Linked DNA regions of Homo sapiens: region 2 is linked to region 1. The links are contacts of gene promoters, found by promoter capture Hi-C in human tissues and cell types (Jung and others, 2019). All regions are on one chromosome and are shown on one strand. The core of a region is centred on a gene start or on the middle of the fragment in contact, and the rest is flanking DNA. Distances in the headings are between cores, read along the strand shown.

Region 1 (5,018 bases), core at 710-3,209:
CTTTAGTACTTAGAATTTCCTAAGTAACAGAAGAATAAATTAGTTTAAACCCTGGGGTATTTAATATTTAAATGCAGATTTTCCTATAAACTAACAACAGAATTCTTGATCAGGAAACCAACGTTATGAATGACACGGACGAGGTAAGCTATCCACACAGTTTATAACCTCCATTAATGGAGGCACCATTATGCTAATTAAGTTAAGGCACTAAGGACAGTCCTCATTCTGTGAAAATGATCAGTTCCAATGTTAGCACTTACCTTTGCAGGGGCCTTTTTAGGCTTGGGCTCTGGCTTTGGAGGAGCAGGTTTCTTTTTTTGGCAGGAAGAGAGGAAAAAGTGAACATCAGTACAATGGACTGAAGAAAACCACCCACAACCAACCAAAAGTACCAAGGGTAGAGAAGTTTCTCCTCCTCCTCAAAAGTTTTTGTGGTTGGCTTTCTTCTAGAATGTTGGATTTCCAGAAGCCCACTCAAATGTCCCACTTTGGCTACAGGCATCAGAATTTCAGAACCAGCAAAACCCAAAGGGGCAAGAGTCCCAAGTAGAGGCAATGATTCAAAACCAGGCACTAACCATAATTCATGGAAGCAAAGGGAATTGTTTTTTGATGTTTTTTAGTTTCAGGGACAAGCACGAAAATTCAAAAGCATACACTTACAGCAGACAACCTCGCGGATCTTCTCTGTGGCTATTAAAGACAACGAGAAAGTTAGAAATAGGACAGGTAAGTCGCTTTGAAAGTTTGGTATCAATTTGCTCTAGATTATAGGAGTGTAAATTCAGGACACAGGTTACGGTTAATCACCGAGTCCAGTGGCCTCTGCTAGTCCAAGGCTTTGACCCTTGAAGAGAGAATGACTTACTTCGTCCTTCACCTTTGCTTTATCTCCCTTAGCATCCCCTTCAGCCTATAAGAAACAAGAACAAAAAACTGCAGATTTTGAGGTGGTTCTTAATTACTTCCCAAACTTTAGAGTGCTAAAAATGAAAATTAAAGCAGTCGTCCACACAACTTTTCTAGGACATAAATGAGTGAGCCCGACGTTCGTATAAGAACGAAGCGCGCGCAGGAGCTCCGGCTCGCCGACCCCGAGAAGCGAGGGCTGGACCGGAGCGCAGCCGGGGAGGGCAGCGGAGCCCGCACCACCGCGACAGGCAGGAGCAACAGCTGCAGATGGCGCAAACAAACCCCCTCCGGAGGCGGAGCCCAGCGCCGTTGCTATGGCAGCCGTCGAGGGCGGGAGAGGGAGGCGCGCGCAGCCCGGGGAACTCGTGGGCGGCGACAGCGCGCGTCTCGTGCGCGGGGAACGTGGGCGAGGGGGCGGGGCCATACCGCACAAGCCCCGCCCCTCACGGCGGCGGTTTTTTGGCGGCAGCGCTTTCCCCCGCCCGCCAACCCCGAGCGCCGCCTTCCCGCCCTTTCGGGTTTGAATTGCCCGCCCGCAGGGAGGGGAGGGAAGGGGCCCTCGCGATGGGGGAGGGGGCACGGGGCGGGGGCGGCGAGCCCGAGGAGAGCGGGATAAACAGCCGCCAACATGGCTCCTCCCGCCGCGGCCGCCGCTCCTCCAATATGGCCTCTGGCGCCCGCGGGCAGCCGAGCCGCTCAGGGTTAGCCCCGAGCTGCCCGACACCGTCTCCAGCCCCCGCGCGGGGAGGCTGCGCTGGCTCCTGCTCGGCGCCGATTCTCGCTCCCTGCACCAGGGAGGCGGCGGCGGCGGTGGCGGCAGTGGTGGCCCGGCGCCTGGGGCCCTCGCGCCACGTACCTTTCTCTTGGGCATGGTGGCGGCGGCGACGGCAGCGGGACGTAGGTGCTGGACGCGGGATGCAGCGGCGCGCGGGCTTTGGTCGGTCCGGGGGTCGTTCTCGCCTCTTCTTCACACTGCTCGGGCTCCGGGGGGTTTATAAAGTTTTTATAGCGCTGGGAGCCCCGGACCGGTTAGAACCGGATTTCACCTCCCGCCGCCGTTCATTGGCCCAGCTGGGGTCACGTGGGCGGGGTTTAAACTCACCTCCTCTGGAGGGAGTGAGGAGGGGGGTGTGTGGGGGGGGTAGTGCGCGGAGACGGCGGCGCGCCGAGGGGGTGGGGGCGCAGTCGGGGTGGCGCGCGTCGAAGGCAGTAAATGAGGAGGGGTGCGCGAGTCGGCGGGCTCCGGGTTCCGGCTCCCGCCAAGAGCTGTCTTTTGCAAACTAGCAAGTTCCTTCCACCTTATGCAACCCAGCAACCCACTTCTCCAAGCCGTGCGACACTCACGGCGCATCTCAGCGGCTTTCCTTCCTGCTCCCGCTGGGGGCCCCAGAAGAGGGGTTTGCGAGGCCTGGCTGCACTGCCCTGCTCCTCTGGAAGCAGGAGGAAGCGCGCGGCTGGAGGCACAGGCTGCAGTTCCCAGAGCCCAGGCTGACGCCAAAGTGGGAAAAAGGCGGGGAAACCAGCTTGGCGCAGCCGGACGTGCATCCTTCCGAGCTGCCACTTCGGAGAAGCCTTTCGTGCACCTCACCTGAAAGACGGTCCCACTCGAGGTGGGCTAGGGGTTTCAGGGGGAGACTTTCCATGCAGAGGTGCCTTTTGGGTGCCGTGGGTCAGGTAGGAGCTGTCCTTTCAGCACCCGTTGCGCAGCCGCCTCCCCAAATGCTATCGAAGCCCCCACCCCCAACTCCTCTCGGGTGGCTCCCTTAAGGTCCCTGTATTCCCAAACCTCCAGACCCCGCCACAGTATGGTGGAGAGCGGCCGTCGAGGTCTACCAGCACTCACTTCCCCCTACACTCTACCCCTCTCGGAGACATTTTGCCCAGCTGCCCAACCCGACGCGGCCACCAAGCCTGGGCACTGCAGCCGCAGCTGGCGAAATCCCTCCTTCCACACTGTCAAGCTGGCTGCCTTTCACTTGCGCGAGGAAAGGAGGGTGGAGGAAAGCGCCCGGGGATTAGGAAACAAGTAGAGGAACAGGTGGTGTGATGGCAAAAGGGCTCTTCCGGTGCCCCCTAGTCCAAAGCCAGGGTCTTGGAGCTAGCCAAGTGCACCTGAGGGAGGGTAGGCAATTGCAGCAGCAAAAGAAGGTGTTCTTCCGTTGCAGTTAGCAAACAAGTTTTACATCTAAGAATCTTTAAAAATTCTATTTGAGACCCAGCACACAAGAATACGATAGATGTCCTCAAATGGGGGCTTGGCTCACAGGTGGAAGGACACTAAATTGGTCCCATCTGATTTCTTGAGGCAAGGGTTGAACCTGGCTTGCACAAATCACACCTGTCCAAAGCAACCACGAGTTCTACTATTTTGCAGCCCTTGCTGCTGGGCGACGACGACGACCTCTCTGCCTCTTCTTTCCACCACTACATCGCCTCCTGGGGCAGCTTCTCCCTACTCCACCCTGTGTACCTTTCCCAGAATACAGAACCTCAGGCCAAAGAGAGATGCCAGCCCCATTAATCACCTCTACTGTACCCCAATCATATTACGGAAAGTCAGACCCAGGAGACAGGACTCAACAGCCACGCTCATAGGGCAGATTCCGTTTGCTGCCTCCAGCCCCTCATTCCCGCCTTAATTGTAGGGCTCTGCATTATAGCCGCATAATTCATGCCTCCCTAATTATGGCTGTCAACAGCCCCATTGTAAAGCTGTAAAATGTACAGCACCTGCTCTCCAGGAACCCTGTGCCAGGGATTGGTAGAGGGGAGTGCCAGGTGTGGATGGGGGCTTTGCCAAAGGGTTCACTGATTGGCTTCTCAATCGCCGTGTCTGGCATTTATGCTTGATTCTGGGAGCATGGACAATAGCCAAGAAGTCTCTTGCCGCCAGGTATCCCGGGACAGAAAGGGGAAGAGGCGGGTGGGGTATAGGAAAGTTAGGGGTTTCCTGTGTGCTCTTGCTACAACTTGCAAGATTTCACCTCTCCCCTAGAGGGAGCTGCTAGGGAAACAGCTTGCAGAAAGTAAAATGGGAAGTCTGGCATGGTGGCTCATGCCTGTAATCCCAGCACTTTGGGAGGGTGAGGCCGGCGGATCACCTGAGGTCAGGAGTTCGAGACCAGCCAGGACAGGGTGAGATGCTGTCTCCAAAAAAAAAAAAAAAAAGAAGAAGGAAAATGGACTTTAAAGAGAGTAGCATTTGGTTGGTGTTGCTGGCTGGTACTTGCCGGTGTGGGGCACCTGAAATAGAGTTGCTCAGGCAGACAGCTCTTCAAAGGCACTAATCCTCTCAGCAGCTCTGCAGCAAGTCCTGGCAGAGGGAGGTAAGGGAAAGGACACAGCTTTGACCCTCACAAGCAGAGGACCTAGAACAAGCTTTGCCATGCCAAGAATAAATCATCTAGGGCCTACTTAGGGAGCCAGGTCAAAAAGCTGAGAGAAACCTCGAAGAGTGGAGTGGGAATCAGAGTTTGAGATGGTGAGGGCAGGGAGCAGAGTCAGTTGGAAGAAGTGTTTGGTTCTGCTCAGTCCTGTTGTGTTACAGGGGAGGCCTGTGCTGGATTCAGTTCACCAGGGCCTACAGGCCCTTCTGTTACCCTGAACCATGGAGGGGGCCAGTCTCATTTGGGAGTGGAGCCTGGCCCCATGCCCTGCAAGAGGAGGAGAAAAGCTTGTGTGGGCTGAGTCGACAATAGGTAATTGGATTGTAATCGCCCGCCTGGCTTCCGCGCACCATTGGGGGTGCTGAGTCTTTCAGTGAGCAATCAGTACTGTGTGGTGGGAGAGGGTAGAGATTCAATAGCAAATCCCAGGTGGAGAGCCAAGGGGGAGGAGCAGCAGATGGGCAAATTTTCTGTCTCTCCCACCCCTTTTTTCCTTACCCAAATAACTGCCTGCCTATTAGTTATTTACTAGCAGATCCAAGGTAGAGCCAAATCTTTTGTGGAAGCTGGGTGGAAGGCTAAAATGGAAGGGTAAAGAGCTAGGGTTTTGGGGAGAACTCTTCCCTGAAATTCTGTGTGTTGAAGGATGTGCTGGTGGAAAAAGAAAGTGCATCTAAGAGACAGGCAGCTGATGAGTTGTGGCCCTTTGCTCTCCAA
Region 2 (5,018 bases), core at 839-3,338, 1.1 Mb before region 1:
ACCCGAGGGCCGCCTACTGCCCCTGCCTATGCCCACGGGGCTGGTGGCTGCCCTGGCCGAACCCCCACCACCACCGCCTCCTCCACCCCCTGCCCTGCCAGGCCCAGGCCCGGTCTCAGTCCCAGAGTTGAAGCCGGAATCTTCCCAGACCCCAGTGGTCTCTACCCGCAAAGGCAAGTGCCGGGGCGTGCGGCGCATGGTGGTGAAGATGGCCAAGATCCCCGTATCGCTGGGGCGGCGGAACAAGACCACATACAAAGTGTCTTCCTTGAGCAGCAGCCTGAGCGTGGAGGGCAAGGAGCTGGGCCTGCGCGTGTCGGCTGAGCCCACCCCGCTGCTGAAGATGAAGAACAATGGGCGGAACGTGGTAGTGGTCTTCCCACCCGGTGAGATGCCCATTATTCTCAAACGTAAGCGCGGCCGCCCTCCTAAGAACCTGCTGCTGGGTCCCGGCAAGCCCAAGGAGCCAGCTGTGGTGGCGGCCGAGGCAGCCACTGTGGCAGCGGCCACCATGGCCATGCCAGAGGTAAAAAAACGACGGCGGCGGAAGCAGAAGCTGGCATCTCCCCAGCCATCCTATGCAGCAGACGCCAACGACAGCAAGGCCGAGTACTCAGACGTCCTGGCCAAGCTGGCCTTCCTGAACCGCCAGAGCCAGTGCGCTGGACGGTGCTCACCGCCCCGCTGCTGGACACCCAGTGAGCCGGAGTCGGTGCACCAGGCCCCCGACACCCAGAGCATCTCCCACTTCCTGCATCGTGTGCAGGGCTTCCGGCGGCGTGGGGGCAAAGCAGGCGGTTTTGGTGGCCGGGGTGGGGGCCATGCGGCCAAGTCAGCCCGATGCTCCTTCAGTGACTTCTTTGAGGGCATCGGCAAGAAAAAGAAGGTGGTGGCCGTGGCAGCCGCTGGGGTCGGGGGCCCGGGCCTTACTGAGTTGGGGCACCCACGCAAACGGGGCCGGGGGGAGGTAGACGCTGTGACTGGGAAGCCAAAGCGCAAGAGACGGTCCCGGAAGAATGGGACTCTGTTCCCAGAGCAGGTGCCCAGTGGCCCAGGCTTTGGGGAGGCAGGTGCTGAGTGGGCCGGGGATAAGGGTGGTGGCTGGGCCCCTCACCATGGGCACCCAGGCGGACAAGCTGGCCGAAACTGTGGGTTTCAGGGGACCGAGGCCCGGGCCTTTGCCTCCACTGGGCTGGAGAGTGGAGCCTCAGGCCGTGGCAGCTACTACAGCACGGGTGCACCCTCAGGCCAGACCGAGCTCAGCCAGGAGCGCCAAAACCTCTTCACCGGCTACTTTCGCTCGCTGCTCGATTCGGATGACTCCTCCGATCTCTTGGACTTTGCCCTCTCAGCCTCTCGCCCAGAGTCCCGGAAGGCATCGGGCACCTATGCAGGGCCACCCACCAGTGCCCTGCCTGCCCAGCGGGGCCTGGCCACCTTCCCTAGCCGGGGAGCCAAGGCCAGCCCAGTGGCAGTGGGTAGCAGCGGGGCTGGGGCGGACCCCTCCTTTCAGCCTGTCCTGTCCGCGCGCCAGACCTTCCCACCAGGACGAGCAGCAAGCTATGGGCTAACTCCAGCCGCTTCAGACTGCCGGGCAGCCGAGACCTTCCCCAAGCTGGTGCCCCCGCCCTCAGCCATGGCCCGCTCACCTACCACCCACCCGCCTGCCAACACCTACCTGCCCCAGTACGGCGGCTATGGGGCCGGACAAAGCGTATTCGCCCCAACTAAGCCCTTTACAGGCCAGGACTGCGCTAACAGCAAGGACTGCAGCTTCGCCTATGGCAGTGGCAACAGCCTCCCTGCCTCACCCAGCAGCGCCCACAGCGCCGGCTATGCCCCACCGCCTACCGGGGGCCCCTGCCTGCCACCAAGCAAGGCCTCCTTCTTCAGCAGCTCTGAGGGGGCCCCCTTCTCTGGTTCAGCCCCCACGCCCCTGCGCTGTGACAGCCGGGCCAGCACAGTCTCGCCCGGTGGCTACATGGTACCCAAGGGCACCACAGCCTCTGCCACCTCTGCAGCCTCTGCCGCCTCCTCCTCCTCCTCCTCCTTCCAGCCCTCGCCCGAGAACTGTCGGCAGTTTGCGGGGGCTTCTCAGTGGCCTTTCCGGCAGGGCTATGGAGGCCTGGACTGGGCCTCAGAGGCCTTTAGTCAGCTCTACAATCCCAGTTTTGACTGCCACGTCAGCGAGCCCAACGTGATCCTGGACATCTCCAACTACACACCGCAGAAGGTGAAGCAGCAGACGGCTGTGTCGGAGACCTTCTCTGAGTCATCCTCCGACAGCACCCAGTTCAATCAGCCGGTTGGTGGCGGGGGGTTTCGGCGTGCCAACAGCGAGGCCTCAAGTAGTGAGGGCCAGTCGAGCCTGTCCAGCCTGGAGAAACTGATGATGGACTGGAACGAGGCATCATCTGCCCCCGGCTACAACTGGAACCAGAGTGTCCTCTTTCAGAGTAGCTCCAAGCCGGGCCGTGGACGGCGGAAGAAGGTGGACCTGTTCGAGGCCTCACATCTGGGCTTCCCGACATCCGCCTCTGCCGCTGCCTCAGGCTACCCATCCAAACGGAGCACTGGGCCCCGGCAGCCGCGAGGTGGACGGGGCGGTGGGGCCTGCTCAGCCAAGAAGGAGCGGGGTGGCGCAGCGGCCAAAGCCAAGTTCATCCCCAAGCCACAGCCAGTCAACCCACTGTTCCAGGACAGTCCTGACCTCGGCCTGGACTACTATAGCGGGGACAGCAGCATGTCACCACTGCCCTCACAGTCGAGGGCCTTCGGCGTGGGAGAGCGAGACCCCTGTGACTTCATAGGACCCTACTCCATGAACCCGTCCACGCCTTCCGATGGCACCTTTGGCCAAGGCTTCCACTGCGACTCGCCCAGCCTGGGTGCTCCCGAGCTTGATGGCAAGCATTTCCCACCGCTGGCCCACCCACCCACGGTGTTTGACGCCGGCCTGCAGAAGGCATACTCGCCCACCTGCTCGCCTACACTGGGCTTCAAGGAAGAGCTGCGGCCACCGCCCACAAAGCTGGCTGCCTGCGAGCCCCTCAAGCATGGACTCCAGGGGGCCAGCCTGGGCCACGCAGCTGCAGCCCAGGCCCACCTGAGCTGCCGGGACCTGCCGCTGGGCCAGCCCCACTACGATTCCCCCAGCTGCAAGGGCACAGCCTATTGGTACCCTCCAGGCTCAGCTGCCCGCAGCCCGCCCTATGAAGGCAAGGTGGGTACAGGGCTGCTGGCTGACTTCCTGGGCAGGACGGAGGCCGCGTGCCTCAGTGCCCCTCACCTGGCTAGCCCACCAGCCACGCCCAAGGCCGACAAGGAGCCACTGGAAATGGCCCGGCCCCCTGGCCCACCCCGTGGCCCTGCTGCAGCCGCTGCTGGCTATGGCTGCCCACTCCTTAGTGACTTGACCCTGTCCCCCGTGCCGAGGGACTCGCTGCTGCCCCTGCAGGACACCGCCTACAGGTACCCAGGCTTTATGCCCCAGGCGCATCCTGGCCTGGGTGGGGGCCCCAAGAGCGGCTTCCTGGGGCCCATGGCGGAACCTCACCCCGAGGACACATTCACCGTCACATCCCTGTAGTGCCAACTGAAGTGCCGACTGGACCGCGAGGTTTTGTTCCTGGGTGAGTCTGGGGATGTGGGCGCAGTGGGCAGAGGCCTGGGGGTGGGAAGAGGACATCAGAGCTTAGGCAAGGACAGAGGTATGGAGTGCAGGAAGCAAATGCAGGATTTAAGGGCAAGGCTGGGGACTGAGAGCAGGGTGTAGGGATTCAGGATTCGCTGTTGCGGACAGTCTCAGGAGGAGATGGGGTGCTTGGGCTGGGAACTCAGCAGGGGGCTTGAACGTTCGGGGGGGTCTTGTGAATTGAAATGGCCAGAGGACTACACACTGGATGGGGCCCTGTAGTTTGGTTTATTAAGCTTTCAATTATTTGTTCATGCTATGTCTTGGGCAGGAAGTGAGTATTTCCCAGGAAATACGCTGATAAGGGTGGGCATTTGTATCGCCCTGTGTGAGACAGGTGAAGGGAGAAGCAGGTTGGACGGTCGTCTACCCAGGGCCTATCCAGAGGACCAGCCCTGCTGGCACCCCCATTTCCCTGGGAGCTTCACTGATTCTAAGAGGCAGCCTGGTGAGGGCCAGGCCAAGAGTGGCCAGTGTGGCGTGGTCACACACTCTGCAAGGGCTTCACAGGATGGTCCAAAATGTCCTCTCTTGGCCTCCCAAGGTACCCCCAAAGGCTATTTTCCAACATCTTTGGTCTGAGATAGGCTAGGTGTGGCCAGGAGCATGTGGGGTAGGGACCCAGAAGTGGAGAAGGGGTGCTGGGGTCCCACTGTCCCTGCAAACCTGCAGCCAGTGAGGCTATCTTCAGGCAAAGGTATTTTGACCCTAGAAAAGCCAGTCCCTTTCCTGAAGCCAAAGACTTTTCTGAGAGTTCAGTTAAAGAGTGTTAAATGTTTTGATACTGTTTTTATCAGGTACTGTGACCTCATTAGTTGGAGTCAGTTTTAGTATTCTCAAGATTTGGTGTTTTAAAAAAGGAAAATAAAAGACAGAAAATGCCCCCAAAATGATCAAAGGGAACAAGGTTGAAGGAGCCATCTTCTTGAAGAACAGCCTGCTCCCGAAATACAGCCGCCACTGGCCCCACTTTTGGACAACAGATCTGTCACAAAATTGGCCCAGATGTGGTGGTTGGTGATGGGGCAGACTGGGGGCATGCCTGCGTCCCTCACCCTTCACCTCTGCTGCCACTGAAGCTTCCTGGGAGTTTCTCTTCCTGGAGGAGTAGCTGGGCTCCTGGAAAGTCCCATCCGTGCTCTGGGAGGCCATTCAAGGCCAGGGTGACTCAGGGTCCTGAAGTCATGTCAGTGGAAACTTGTTGCCCCCTCTCTGCCAGACCCCAGCTCCCCTGGTGCCTGAAGGTGACAAAGGGCAGCATGCAGGAGTCCGGAGGCCTCCGGGAGGACCATTCCCAGATTGGCCACCAACTTCCCACATGCCC

Evidence for each region. The method cuts DNA at HindIII sites, captures the fragments that hold promoters and counts their contacts. A contact is called where the count stands out against the background at its distance.
Region 2: a fragment that was not itself captured here is called in contact with the fragment with the promoter of HMGN2 in region 1 in 1 of the 25 tissues and cell types used here (pancreas).

What each region holds. Positions count from the first base shown.
Region 1 is chr1:26,469,381-26,474,398 of GRCh38, reverse strand. HMGN2 (high mobility group nucleosomal binding domain 2) reads right to left here and starts at 1,959. Exons shown (of 6, transcript NM_005517.4): 1 at 1,772-1,959; 2 at 872-916; 3 at 667-696; 4 at 264-314. The coding sequence starts at 1,786. DHDDS (dehydrodolichyl diphosphate synthase subunit) reads right to left here. Exons shown (of 9, transcript NM_205861.3): 9 at 3,093-5,018. RefSeq lists silencers at 1,235-1,404, 1,445-1,734, 1,995-2,264, 2,149-2,564 and enhancers at 1,934-2,643, 2,644-3,352. The HindIII fragment of the contact is 14,054 bases long and covers 1-5,018 here.
Region 2 is chr1:27,545,875-27,550,892 of GRCh38, reverse strand. It overlaps AHDC1 (AT-hook DNA binding motif containing 1), which reads left to right. Exons shown (of 9, transcript NM_001371928.1): 8 at 1-3,632. The coding sequence ends at 3,589. Among named protein-coding and RNA genes, the nearest start is that of AHDC1, 56 kb to the left of the region's middle. The HindIII fragment of the contact is 6,600 bases long and covers 1-5,018 here.